Linked DNA regions of Homo sapiens: region 2 is linked to region 1. Evidence: promoter capture Hi-C in human tissues and cell types (Jung and others, 2019). All regions are on one chromosome and are shown on one strand. The core of a region is centred on a gene start or on the middle of the fragment in contact, and the rest is flanking DNA. Distances in the headings are between cores, read along the strand shown.

Evidence for each region. Contacts are between HindIII fragments. The study calls those that stand out against the background at their distance.
Region 2: a fragment that was not itself captured here is called in contact with the fragment with the promoter of SBF2 in region 1 in 1 of the 25 tissues and cell types used here (hippocampus).

Annotation. Positions count from the first base shown.
Region 1 is chr11:10,290,996-10,297,934 of GRCh38, reverse strand. SBF2 (SET binding factor 2) reads left to right here and starts at 3,716. Exons shown (of 40, transcript NM_030962.4): 1 at 3,716-3,920. The coding sequence starts at 3,866. RefSeq lists silencers at 3,579-3,628, 3,749-4,028, 4,059-4,138, 4,179-4,318. The HindIII fragment of the contact is 12,564 bases long and covers 1-6,939 here.
Region 2 is chr11:8,807,689-8,814,624 of GRCh38, reverse strand. DENND2B (DENN domain containing 2B) reads left to right here and starts at 3,951. Exons shown (of 20, transcript NM_213618.2): 1 at 3,951-4,108. It overlaps DENND2B-AS1 (DENND2B antisense RNA 1), which reads right to left. Exons shown (of 5, transcript NR_120590.1): 5 at 4,349-4,548. The HindIII fragment of the contact is 4,134 bases long and covers 1,941-6,074 here.

The DNA.
Region 1 (6,939 bases), core at 2,467-4,966:
GGCTTTCAGCCAACCTCAGTAATCAGGCTGCCTTGTCAGGGCTTATCAGTTTCAACAGGCTGGCAGCTGTTGGCTGAGAAGCAAAGCACAGCTTTAGTGTATACAAAATATGTTCACATGTATATACAAACACACAGTGCCTTTCTACATGTACCTAGGATATGTTAAAATCTCTGTGTGACAAAATGGGCATTTGCAAATGGACTGGAAGTCTACTTATGACAGTAACAGATGAAATATGCCTAAAAGCAGAATAGCATTTGATTCTAGGCTTAAAAACAATAAACTTTGATTTTAAAAAATTAAAATAATTTAAATGAGTACTTGCAAATGAAATAAAAGCCAAGACATTTAAAAGGTAAAACAAGACCCCTTACCACTACAAAATTAACTCAAAATGGGTCAAAGTACTAAAGAGCTAAAACTATGAAGGAAACCAGTAAATCTTCATCTCACCTTTAATATGGCAATAATTTTTTAGATATAACACTAAAAGCATAGAAACAAACTAAAAAAGTGGACTTTATCAAAATTAAAAACTTTTTTGAGCCAAAGGACATTATCAAGAAAATGAAGTCTGGGTGTGGAAGCTCATGCCTCTAATCCTAGTACCTTGGGAGGGCTAGGTGGGAGGATTGCCTGAGGACAGGAGGTTAAGACCAGCCTGGGCAACATCATGATACAACATCTCTACATAAAAATAAAATGAAAAATAAAATAAAAATAGGAAATATTTGGGGGGGGGAATAGGGCATAACAATTTTAAAAAGAAAATGAAAAGACAACGTACAGAATGGGAAAATATCTGCAAATCATATATCTGACAAGGACTAGTATCCAGAATATATAAAGAACTCTTACAACTCAACCTCAAAAAGACAAAGAATCAATTAAAAAATGGGCAAAGGACTTGAATAGACATTTCTCCAAAGAAGATTTAGCAATGGCCAATAAACACATGAAAAGATCCTCAACATCATTAGTCTTTAGGGAAAGGCAAAACAGGACCACAATGAGATATCACTTCACACTAAGATAGCTATAACAAAACATAAACAACAGGAAAACAAGAGTTGACAAAGATGCAGAGAAATCAGAACCCTAGTGCATTGCTGGTGAAAATGTAAAATGATGCAGCCACTGTGGAAAACAGTAGTAACAGAACTACTTAATCCAGTAATTCCAATCCCAAGAATATATCCCCAAAATTGAAAACAGGTACTCAAATACATGTACATGCATGTTTGAAGCAGCACTATTCACAATGCCAAAAGGTGGAAACAACCCATATGTCCATATGGGTTGTTCCAGATAAACAAAATATGGTATATACATATGATATGGTTTGGCTGTGTCCTCACCCAAATTTCATCTTGAATTGTACCCCATAATTCCCACCTGTCATGGGAGGGATCCGGTGGAAGGTAATTGAATCATGGGGGCGGGTCTTTCTCCTGCTGTTGTGGTGATAGTGAATAAGTTTTATGAGATTTGATGGTATAAAGGAGAGTTCTGCATAAGCTCTCTTGTCTGCCGCTTTGCTCTCCTTGCCTTCCGCCATGTGGAACTGTGAGTCAATTAAACCTCTTCTCTTTATAAATTACCTAGTCTCGGGTATGTCTTTATTAGCACCGTGAGAACAGTCTAACACAATATACAATGGAATATTATTGAGTCATAAAAAATAATGAAGTATTGATACTTCAATGTGATGCTACAACCTTGTACTGTATCTGCCCGTAAACAAGCTGAGAACAATATACTAAGTGAGAAAAACCAAGACACAAAAAACCCACATATTGTATGATATGAATATGAAATATTCATAATAGGTAAATCCATAGAGACAGAAAGCAAAATGGTGATTGCCAGGGGCTGTGGGAGGGGAGAATGAGAATGACTGCTTAATGGTTGTGAGGTTTTCTTTTGGGTGATGAAAATGTTTTGTAACTAGATAGACATGGTAGTTGTACAGCATTGGGAATGTACTTAATTGCCACTGAATTCTACATTTTCAAGTGGCTAATTTTACAATATGTGAATTTTGCCCTATTTTTAGAAAAGTTGGGAAGGAATATGATAGCTGCCTTAAAAATCTATCATATGAAGATAGATTTTTTTTTTCTGGATAGTTCCGGAGAGCAGAATCAGGGGAAGTTACAGTAAGACAACTCTGAAATAATAAGGAAGAACTTTCTAACAATAGGGCTGTTAAACAGTGGAATGCGCTGCCTCCCAAGGAAGTAAGATTACTTTTTACTGAAAGTGATCAAGTTGGATGATGAGCTCTCAGGGAAGTTACAGAGAGGATTGCTGCACGGGGTATGACTGAGGTTTTTTTTTTTTTGGTTTAATTATTTTCAGGATCAAACTATCTTCCCTCCACGTTTGCAAATTCAGCTGATTCAGTTTTACCATTAGCAACTGACATAGAGGTCCTGGAGTTAAAGTATTCCTTCAGTTTCAGTTCTAGTGCAGCCCAACCCTCCCAATTTGTAGATGAAACAAGTGTGGCAGAGAAAGGGGAAATAGTAAATTACAGCAGAGTAAATCTTCAGGAGCTGAGATGTCAACTCTCTCAGTTCAGAGTTGGAGCCATTGCGGCTTCCTGCTGGTCGTTGGGGAAAATCGCACATTTACTCATTTAAAATATTTTGTAGGCACCTACTATATACTAGACGCTTTGCTAAGAGGCCTTGTCTTATGTGTAAATATGAAGGATCAAACCCTCAATTAATAGTGAGCAGTGATAAGCAACCACAAAGACAACTTCTAAACCACGGAGATTTCCAAAACTTTGGTCTACCACTTGTACAAATTCTACTAAAACTTCGTGAGATATTAACAAATGACAAAGTGAGTTCACCTGAATGTCACACCAGCCAAATTCGAAATGGTCAATAGGAGGTTCAACAAAAAAGCAAGCGACTTTGATAATCCCGAGACGGAAGGACGGGACCATCTATTCATTTTTGTGCATGTTTGAGCAGGGAAGTTGGAAGTCCACCTGCTCGGGCTGCGAGAGCCCTGGGACCGCTGCGAGGGAAGCAAGCCGAGGCGTGCGGGGCTCCCCAGGGAGAGGCCAGCCCAGTTCGGGAGGATCCCGGGGATGCCGCGTTCCTCGGTGGAATCTGGCTCTCCCGGGCGCTCCGGGGGAAGCCCAGGCCGACCGCCCCCGGCCCACCCGGCATTGAAACCCGAGGCTCCTTGGAGGATTGCGTAAAAGCCTCTCCCTCCCCCGTCTGCTCGGTGGCATGTTTCTAAAATTCCCATCTACACAACATAAACAGGAAACGTGCAGCAAAAGCCCTGTCGATGCAAATTCCTTGCTTCCAACCGAGGGCGGGAGAATTTCATCTTTGGTGGTGGTGGGGAGCAGAGGAAGCAGCCAGCTTTCCAAGTGACCCCTCAACTCTCCACATCCCTTCTTCCAAATCCAAACAGAATAGAGAAGGCGGAAGGAAGGACCCCCTGCTTTAGGAAAAATAGGGAGGCAGAGGGGGCCGTGAAGCAGCATCCAGGCCTCAAAGTGAACCACCTCCAGGGGCCGCGGTGGCGGCGCGTGGCGGGAACACGCCCGACCGCCCACTCCCCCAGCGCAGCAGTCCGCGAGGCCCGCGGAGGGTGGAGGTGGGCTCGCCGCCCGGGCTTGGGGCAGCCGAGCCAGCGCGGGTGGGGGCGGGGGAGGAGCGGGCACTAGGCGCCGCGCAAGCGCAGAGCGCGCCTCGGTTGTCAAACATGGCTGAAGCGCTGCCGCTGCCGCTACTGCCGCTGCAGGGAAAATGCTGAGCCCTCCCGGGCCGGGTGGGCGGCGGCGGCGAGGGCGGCGACGGGGACCCGCTTCCCGAGCGCGGCGGCGGCGGCCATGGCCCGGCTGGCTGACTACTTCATCGTGGTAGGCTATGACCACGAGAAGCCAGGTAAGGGTGTGGGGCGGCACCGCCCCCGGGCCTCCCCGCCCCCCGGCCGCTGTCCAGTGGGCTCCGCGGGGCCGGGCGTCGGGGACGGGCGTCGGGGAGGGCCAGGCCGAGTCTCGGAGGAGCGGGCGGTCGGCGTCCGGCCTTCTCGGCTGGGCTGAGCCTGGCGGTGGGCGTGGGGGGGCCGGCACGACGGTAGGGGGAGGGAAGACGCCGCGTCTGCCCAGCCCCTGGGCGCACCCGCTGGGCGGGCCGGAGGCGAGTTGGGGTCTCGCGACCCTCCCGCTGGAGGCTGCAGGGTACCCGGGGCAGAGAGAGCCCTGAGATTGGGCCCAGGACCGCAAGGCTGGGAGGGCGGGAGCCAACTGTGCTAAGTTCCTCGGGGATAAACTTCTGCCCTGCATCCTGAGTGAGTAACCAGTGACGCAGGGGGTTGTCCTCTCCGAAAGGAAGTGCTGAGAGTCCAGTGCTAACTCACCCCTGTGCTGTTGGGGGCCTAGTGACCTCCCCAAGGAACGCGTGGTACCAGGGAAGGGGACAGGATTCTTTGCACTTTTACCCCTTTCTAGGAAATGCTCCCTATTCTTTCAGGACAAATGTGACGGTCACTTCACAGTGACATGACTTGTCTTTTAACTAAGGACAGCCAGCTGACCGCTGAAGGTGATCTTGTTTCACTTTAATGTGTTTTCATTGTTCTTTTTATTTGTCACAGAATTTTCGTCGTAAGGAACAATTGGGCAAATGCATTGTATTTTACACTTTAATTGACGGACTTCCACAACTTAAGAGAATTCAGGGTTCATGCACGTTTATTTCTGTATTTGTATTCTCTTGTATTACTATGTAGCTAAGCATAATGTAATAACAAATTGAGCTGGGAAACCACTTCTATTTTAGGGCAATTCTAGTCCCACATTTGCAAGGAATTTGAGATATCAGCTCTACAGCCCCTTCATTTTTCAGAGATGCTGAGATTGTGTTTTCCTGATGGTTACAGCCATTGGTAGCTCAGAATACCATTGTTCTACCCACTCTTGGTCCACTCTCTCTTTCATTATTCCTCTCCTAAGAACTTCCTCTCCTTTAGTGGGAACCTTTCATGTTCTTTTCTCTTTCACCAGTCATGACCTGATTGAGGTCAATTGTTAAAGAGAAAGTTTAAATGTTTAAACTTCTGGATCCAAAATTTTATTTCCTAGTAATTTGGCATAGTCTGATGTTTCTTTTCTATCAAGATTAAGTGTGGGAAATCAGTTTTTTAACCTTTAGTTTTTAGTGACATTGTTCCGCCTCCCCCCCTCCCCACTTTTAAACAATTTTTTTTTTTTTTTTTTTTGAGACGGAGTTTTGCTCTGTTGCCCACGCTGGAGTGCAGTGGTGCGATCTTGGCTCACTGCAACCTCTGTCTCCCGGGTTGAAGCAATTCTCTGCCTCAGCCTCCGGAGTAGCTGGGATTTACAGGCGCCCGCCAACACGCCCGCTAATTTTTGTATTTGTAGTAGAGACGGGATTTCACCATCCTGGCCAGGCTGGTCTTGAACTCCTGATCTCGTGATCCACCGGCCTCGGCCTCCCAAAGTGCTGGGATTACAGGCTTGAGCCACCACGCCCGGCCAACAATGTTGAAACAATAACAGACTTGCAAAAAAGTTGCAAGAATGGTACAAAAAATTCTACCCGCCCCCCAACAATTTGAGAGGAAGCTGTTGACCTGATGCCCTGTCATCCCAGAATACTTTAATGTGCATTTTCTGCAAACAAGAATGTTCTCCTACATGATCACAGTGTAATAACCAAAACAGGAAATGGATAGTGATACAGTACTCCATCTAGTTCTCAGACTGGTTCAAGTTTTGTTGATTGTGCTAGTAATCTCTTTACTGGCAAAAGGATCCAGTTTAGCAATATGTGTTGCATTCATGTTATGTCTCTTTTGTCTCCCTCAATCTGGAACATTTCCTTTATCTTCTCCTGACTTTCATGACCTTAACATATTTAACAATTACAGGTCAGTCACTTTGTAGGCTGCCCCCTCAATTTGGGATTGTCTGTTCCTTCATGATTAGATACATACGAATATGCACGTGGGAAGGATATCACAGAAGTGATGCTCACTGCATCCTGTCAGGTGGTGCACAATTTCACTTTGTTTCATTGTTGGTTATTTTTACTTTGATTACTTGATATAAGTAATATCTGCGAGGCTTCTCCACTGTAAAGTTAATACTTAATTGTTTTTGCCATGTACTTTGAAACTATGTAAATATCTTGTTCCTCACTAAACTCTTAATCATTTATTGACATCTACATGGAGTCTGTGTGTGTGTGTGTGTGTGTGTGTGTGTGTGTGTGTGTGTTTAGTGGATTATATTCTGTTACTATTTGCCTTAGTCTATTCGGAAAAAGTCACTAGCCCACCTGCCCGAAGCACTGGCTTGAGTGGGAAATAGGAGAGTCTAAGCACATCCAGCCGAAGTGAGACCAGAAAGGGGAGCTCGCGGATTATATTCTGTTACTATTTGCCTTAGTCCATTCGGGCTGTTATAACAAAAATACCTCAAACTGGGTGGCTTATAAACAATAGAAATTTATTTTTCACAGTCTGGAGGCAGAGAAATCCAAGATGAAGACTCTGACAGATTCAGTGTCTGGTGAGGACATGCTTCCTCATAGCCATGTTCTCACTTTAACCTCATATGGCTTAAGGGTCAAATGAGCTCTCTGGGGTCTCTTTAAAAAGGGAACTAATCCCATTCACAAGGACTCCACCACCATGACCTGATCACTTCCTAAAGGCCTCACCTCATAATACCATCACTTTGGGTGTTAGGATTTTAACATACGAATTTTGGGAGGGGACATACACATTCAGACTATAGCATTATTTATTTTGATGTTCAAATTGTTCTTTATATGGCCAATGAGAGTTGTACAAGCTGGCTTCTGTGTTCTTATGGTACATCCCCATCACTCTTTGAGAACAACTTTGTACTTTTTGGCACAAGAACCTGTTCCTGGC
Region 2 (6,936 bases), core at 2,758-5,257, 1.5 Mb after region 1:
GTGTGGGGAGCCTCATTTAGATTGGAGGATTGTGAAAGTCAAGAGACAGGAGAGTCAAGGTGAGGCAAGGTGAGTAAGAGCTATCCAGGCAAAGACTGCTTGGTAGGGGAGTGTCCCAGCAACGGGAAACAACCTGGAAAAAATATGACACCTCAGGGGAACTAAAAGCAGTTGTATGTGGCTGATGCACAGACAGGGAAGGGCAGGAAGTGTGCTGAAAGAAGGCAGGAGGAGAATCATGCTGGGCCTTGTAGGTCCTGGTAAGAAGTTAGATTTTATCTTAAGTGTAGTGGGAAGTCAATGAAGTGTGTTAAGCAGGAAATGACCTGATCTGGTGTTAAAAAAAAAAAAAAAAAAGGTGATTCAGACAGCTCTAATGACTTTGTGAGGGGAGAGTGGAAGCTGGGGCAATTAGGAGGTTTTTGCAATAATTAAGGTGAGAGATGGGTAGCATCAGAGGTGGAGAAAAGTGGACAGATAAAAGATATATTTTGGAAGTAGAATTGTTTGCAGTTGGGAAATGGGTTGGATGTGGGCAGAAATAAGAAGGGAGAGTTGAGGATGTCTCCCAGGTTTCTGGCACATGTATGCTTGCAGGCCTCTCAGTAGACAGCAGAGAGCTTATATAAGGTTGTCAAATCCTTATCCTTCAGAAGGGTCAGGTAGGATTGGTCTAAATCCAGCCTTGCAGAGGCAGTGGTGGGATTCAGCTGTCCCTGACTCTGCCCAGTTCAAGGAGTGTGTACACAGTAGCATTACCCAAGCAGGGATTCCAGTTCTCTCAGTAATGGGGCCCTTCCTTTGTCCCTTCCCCCAGGACAAGGCCCTAAGGAACCTCCATAACTCCAGCATGCCACTAGGGGGAGCATGGCCCGCATTCTGGGTCTGGTTTGGAGGGCTTCTTAAGTTTGGATTACTTCAGGAACTGACTTGTATCAGTTCTAGTACTCAGTCCTGACCCCTGGCCCCTCATACTGCTTAAAAGAATGCCTGGCATATGGTAGGTGCTCAACAAGTGTTAACTGATGTTACTACTGTATTATTAATATTATCTTATTATAGAAAGGGGTGGGATCACCCCTTCTTTCTCAGGATGGAGACTGGGCAAGTGGAATGTGCATTTTGAGGATCAGGAGGAGAGCAGAGGGATGCCTTTTGGACAAGGAAGAGGCGGAAATTTAGTGATTTGATGATACTGCATTTGCCCTTCTGTCTTGTCTTTCTTTGTCTTTCTTTGTAGACTTGGGATTCTTCAGCTGGGGCTTGGGTGGGGTTGGGGATTTATAGTGGGTGATTAGGTTCACTCCCTTTCAAGCTCTGATTGCTTCACTAAAGCAGTAGTGCCCCCCATTTAGGATTTGTGCCATTCTGTCATTTCCTGTTGGATTTTATAACACTTTCCTACCTTAACTTCTGGTATATATTTACCTTTTAAACTCAAGTCAATCAGAATCTTGTTTTGAGAATGTTGTGATATGCTGGAAATTAATGAAAAAAACCCACTAGATTCTGCATAGGATGTTGCATTAAAGATTCTATCAGGCTGGGTGTGGTAGTACACACCTATAATCCCAGCTACTCAGGAGTCTGAGGTGGGAGGATTGCTTGAGCTCAGGAGTTCAAGACCAGCCTGGGCAACATAATAAGACCTCGTGTCAATAAATAAATAAATAAATAACATCAGGACCTTTTTTTTGGGAGCACTGTTTTTGGGAGCAGCATTGGAAAATATCCTCCTTAAGCCTCAGTGTCCTCATCCTGGGGAGGGTATTAACTGTCCCAGTGTTTTTTGTTTGTTTTTGGTGAGGAGTTGTCAAGAGGAGTAAAGTTCTTAGTTCAGTTCCTGACTTGAGAGTGCTTTCACGGACAGCATCTCTTCCGATGCTCAGTCCCAGCCCTGTCAGTAGGCTCTGTAGGTGGAAAGGGGGAAGTCATGGGACTTGCCCAATGGCACATGGCCCGTTAGTGGTGGAGTCAGGCACTGCCAAGGTCTTCTGACCCCTGGTGCTGTTGCAACCACTGTGCTTAATGTACTCAAGAGACTTGAAAGGCTTGGGGATTGTTTCTAGATTTTATTTCCTGGTTCCATGACCTGGGGCAAGTAATTTTACTTCTGTTGTAGAATTAAAAAAAAAAAATCTGTTAAATTAGTATAATAATGCCAATCCTAACTTTCAGACCTGTCATGTTGAACAGACGAGCCAAGATTTTGAGAGTCGTTTAGAAAAGTGCAAGGTCACATATAGCTGTAGGGTAGGGCTTTTTCTCCGAGCTGTGCATCAGGACGTTTTACATCTTAGAGATGCTGTCTTAAGGTCTTTAGGCTGAAAGGATGGTAGTCAGCCTATCTCGCCACAACTTACAAGGATTCTCCACCTTCCCTTGGGAGCCCAGCGTTATCTCATAACCAGTTATCAAAAAGTTGACAGTTTTTGAAATCAGGTGGCAATATACTTTAGTTGAAAGTGTGCTGGACTAGGGCGAACTTGGCTGATCTCTTAGTTCTTTGACTGCCTAACTGTATAAGTGCAGATCAAATGTTTAATCTCTCTGAGTCTCAGTTTTTCCATCTATAAAATGGTCATAAGGCCAGTATGCTGGCTCACGCCTGTAATCCCAGCACTTTGAGAGGCTGAGGCAGGAGGATTGCGTGAAGCCAGGAGTTCAAAACCAGCCTGGGCAACATAGTGAGACCCTGTCTCTATAAAAATAAAAATTAAAAAAGTAGCCAGGCGTGGTGGTGCATGCCTGTAGTCCCAGCTACTTCAGAGGCTGAGGCAGGAGGGTTGTTTGAGCCCAGGAGTTTGATGATGTAGTGAGCTATGATTGCACCAATGCATTCCAGCTTGGGCAATGGAGCAAGATCCTGTCTCTAAAAGAAATTTAAGAAGAATAATAAATAAACTTGAAAAAATGGTCATAAAAATATCTGTGCAGTGTATTTCAAAAGGTTATGAGGATCAAACAAAATGATACATGTAAAAAGAATGTTACAAAGCAGAAATGTATGCTGGGTAGGGGGGAGAGGAAGGGACAGGATGGGGATGGGGATGGGACTAAACTTAGGGGGTCTGCCGTGTCCCAGGGACTGTGCTCATTTTCTGACAGGAGCAATATTATTACCGACTGTGACAGCAGCTCCCACTAAGCCTGCACCTTAGCTGCAGATCCTTAGCAGGGCAGAGAGACAAGGCTGTATTTGTATCAGGTTTGTCGTCTGGGTTGTGACTCTCGACTTGCCCAGGATTCTTCCTGGTCCTGACCGAGTTGTCTTTGCTCTCCATTTCAGGAAGATGAGAGACTGCTTAGGCGCCACCACTAGTACCATGAGTCCCTGCACTGGTTAAAGCCATCGCCACAACCTGGACAGGCAGCAAGGTAAGCAGAGAGGCCAGTCCAGGCGAGCTCCTGGGATGTGAGTGCATTTCCGCCCCAACTGCTGCCCGGAAAAATCCCAAGTGCACAAACAAGTCAAGGCAGCGCATCAGGGTCCCTCCTACCCGAGCTCCAGGACCCAGAGGAAGCTGGGTCCCCTTCAAGCGCTTCAGCTAGCTCCCTCCCCCCTGGCAGGGATTCTTCCAAGTTATAAAAAATGAGACACTGGAGGGGAAGAAAACAAGTCCACTCACTGTCTTCTCCCTTCTCCCCTCTGAGCTGTTCAAGCAAGTTCCCAGGAGCAGTTCAGAGCCCCTGTTGGACTGGAAGGGAGGTAGGAGGAGTGGAATGCATGCAAAAACCGAGCTGATCAAAAGACAGTGCTGTTTCATGGAAGCCTCCCAGAACTGAGAGAGAGAGAGAGAGAGAGAGAGAGAGAGAGACAGTGAGAAAGAAAGAAAAAGAGAGCGCCCTTGTGCACGCGCTAGGCCAAGAGCGCGCCGCTGTGCGCGCGCCCGCCTAGCGAGGACAGGGTCTCCATGACAACCGGCCTGGCCGGCTAGCAGTGCTCTGCTCACTTGGCTGCGAGGAGCGCCACGAAAGGTCAGAGGAAGGAGCTGTGGGAAGCTCGCAGCAGGTATCGGAGCTTAAGCCAGTGGATTTGGGGGCCCTGGGCTCCCTAGCCGGCTGCGGTGTGAGAATGGAGTGGGCAGGAAAGCAGCGGGACTTTCAGGTAAGGGCAGCTCCGGGCTGGGATCATTTGGCCTCCTTTCCTGGCCCTTCTCTCCGGCTGTTTTCTGGGAGTCAGGCGAGTGTCTGTAGTCTCTGCTCGGGGTTTGGGGCTCAGGAATGATGTCATGCTCCAACAGTTGGATTCTATTAGCTTAAGGAGGAGGGAAACAGCCAATTTTCTTGACTTTGCAAATCTAGCTGATCTCACTCTTGCTGAATCTGAGGTGTTTAGACTTCACTCTAAAAAGCATCATTTTACTTTTATTTAGCACAAAGGCACAGGATATTTTTACAGGAAGAATCTTTTATATGGAAAAATCTGAGTTAACATCACTCCCGTGGTGTTTGTAGTTCTTACAGGGAAACTCCAGTGCCTTTTGAGCCGCTTGTTCGTCCTAGTGAACACTGTCTGTTTTGTCTCTTGGTGCTGCTATGTCTGACCTGTAATGGAAAAAAAAAAAAAAAAAAGGCTAATTAAGCTCAGCCAGGAGCCTGTGGTGAGTTCCAAGTCCCTCTAGAGCATTTATTAGGACAGAGGGACTGTCACAGGGATGCCTGAGCTGGGGTTTTGCACTCTCTCTCTTCCAGGCAGCTTGGTAAGAATCAAGCTGTCCTCCCACATCAAAAGGTCGATCACAGACTTTCCTAAGAGGTGGAGGAGGGGGCTGGCTTGGGGTTGGGGGGCCTGCAAACAGGTTTCTCATCCAGATGTCCCAGAGTGAGCTCTCAGCAGCAGCTGCTAAGAGCTGGGGAACATGAGGCACTGTAGTTGTGCCGGGTGGATTCCTTTGGTTACATTTTGACCAAATCTCAGGGCACGCAGTGTCCACGCTGTGCACTCCTACACTGATTGTCCTAAGTTTTGGTAAAACTTGTTCTGACCTAGAGGAGTGGTACATGGTGAGCTGTGTGGCCTTGGAAAGGAGACCCTCCCAGAAAGGCAGTTTTATAGGTGATAGGGTAGTGGGGTTGTCAGTAATATTATGAGGAGGATGAATGCAGCAAACACTTCCTGCAACGGAGACCCATCAGGGGTTGTGCTTCCACTTGAGCCATGTTATGTCTTAAATTCACTTCTTGGCCTCAGGGAACTTTGCAAATGCCTTTGGTTTCTCTGTGGGATGAGGGAACAGCTGCTGTCCTGGTTCTTCAGTTTTTCTTCTTGAACTTTCTGAACAGAATGTCTTTTGTATTCTGGCAAACAATGAGGGGGCATTCTGATTAACTTCGGATCAGCTTGCCAATGCAAGCACTGGCCATGTCCCCAGTTCCGGCTCCCTAAAATGAGTACATGTATACATCGTGGTTGTGGCCTGAGGGTCCACAAGGGTGAACTCCATGGCCCTGGACCTCAGACGGTCCACTTCTGAAGTTATTCCTCTTGCTACATACACTCCAGGGATCCTTTGCTTAGTTGAAACCTACATTTTGCTGGAGGGATGTGGCATAACACTGAGCCAGTGGCCCCTTCAGTTGGCAGTGTAAATCCAGAACCTCAGCCTTCTTTTCTACTTGTGTGTGTAGTTGGAGCTCTTCAATTTTACCATCCCCACATCTGTGAAGAGGGCTAGCAGAGACCCAGTTTCAGGAGCTGCTGCTCCTTCTGTTGGTATAGCAGAAAGAATAATGGATTTGGGTTGCTAGACTTGAGTCGACGGCTAGATTCTGTTCCCATAGGGCGGCCACGGGCAAGTATCTTAACTAATAGGAGCTTCAGATTCTTACCTGTGAGATGGAGGTAATAAGAACAACTTCACAGGACTGTTGGGAGGAGCCAGTGGGATAACTTCCATGAAAGTAGTTTGAAACAAGTCACGTCCTATCTAACGAACCGTGTTGTGAATTGAAGCTTGAGGAATGACCCAACTCTCTCTGGAAAGTCACTTTGCCTCTCTGTTCTGGTTCTCTCATTTTATAAAGTGCCTTCTTCCTTTCTGCATTTATAAGTAAACATGAGAAAAATCTGAAAAGACTTCTTCAGGATGTTTAAGGAAACAAATGTTGCTTTCCTTGGGTTGGGTCGTTTCATAAGAGTGATGTTTGCCATAAAACTGGAGCCTCATAGACGATCCTGCAGGGAGGAAGCTTTCCTTGGTCACCTGACTCATGTGTTTATATATAGTATAGAGGAGAGGTATTCCAAAAGACCCGTCGCTTTTCCTGTGTCCCACAGCTGCCTGTAGAGTTGTGGCACCATAAACTTTAGCAGCTGGAAAAGAGGCCAGGCCTGGTTCCCTCATCCTGCTGGGTCCTGCTGGGCACACTCTGCAGTGGGCAAAGGGGTCTTTCTCCTTCATTCTGGGTTTAGAAGGCAGGGTTCTAACTGGGAGAAAGTGTTATTGCTCCGAAAGGCTTCTTGGGGGCTGGGCAGGTCTTTCAGGAACTCATAAGGCCACAGCTTATGGGGAAAGAAAAAGAAACAAGGAAGTGGGAATTCCAAGGGCAGAGATTCTTGATATGCCATGGGACTGTGCCAAGGAATGGAAGAGCAGGGGAAGGGAGACTCCAGGCAAGGAGAGTCCCAGGTCTGTCCTCATTGAGTCGAAAGGGCGTATGGCATACTAGAGCGCGTCACCCACAGCCCCAGCTTTACTGTAGGATGGGGAAGACCTGCCAGCCATATCCCGGAGTGGTGTCTGGGAAGAAGCCCTTGAGCAGACCCATAGTAGGCAGATTAAAAAAATGAAACAAAACAAGCAGCTCCCCTTCTAGTTGAGTCATGTCACAACAGCCTCTAAGGCCTGAAGGAGAAGCTGCCCACAGCTTAGATTGGGGCTGCAGCTGTTCCCCGACTCCCATCAGTCCGGCTTCCCAGAGCTGAGTCACAAA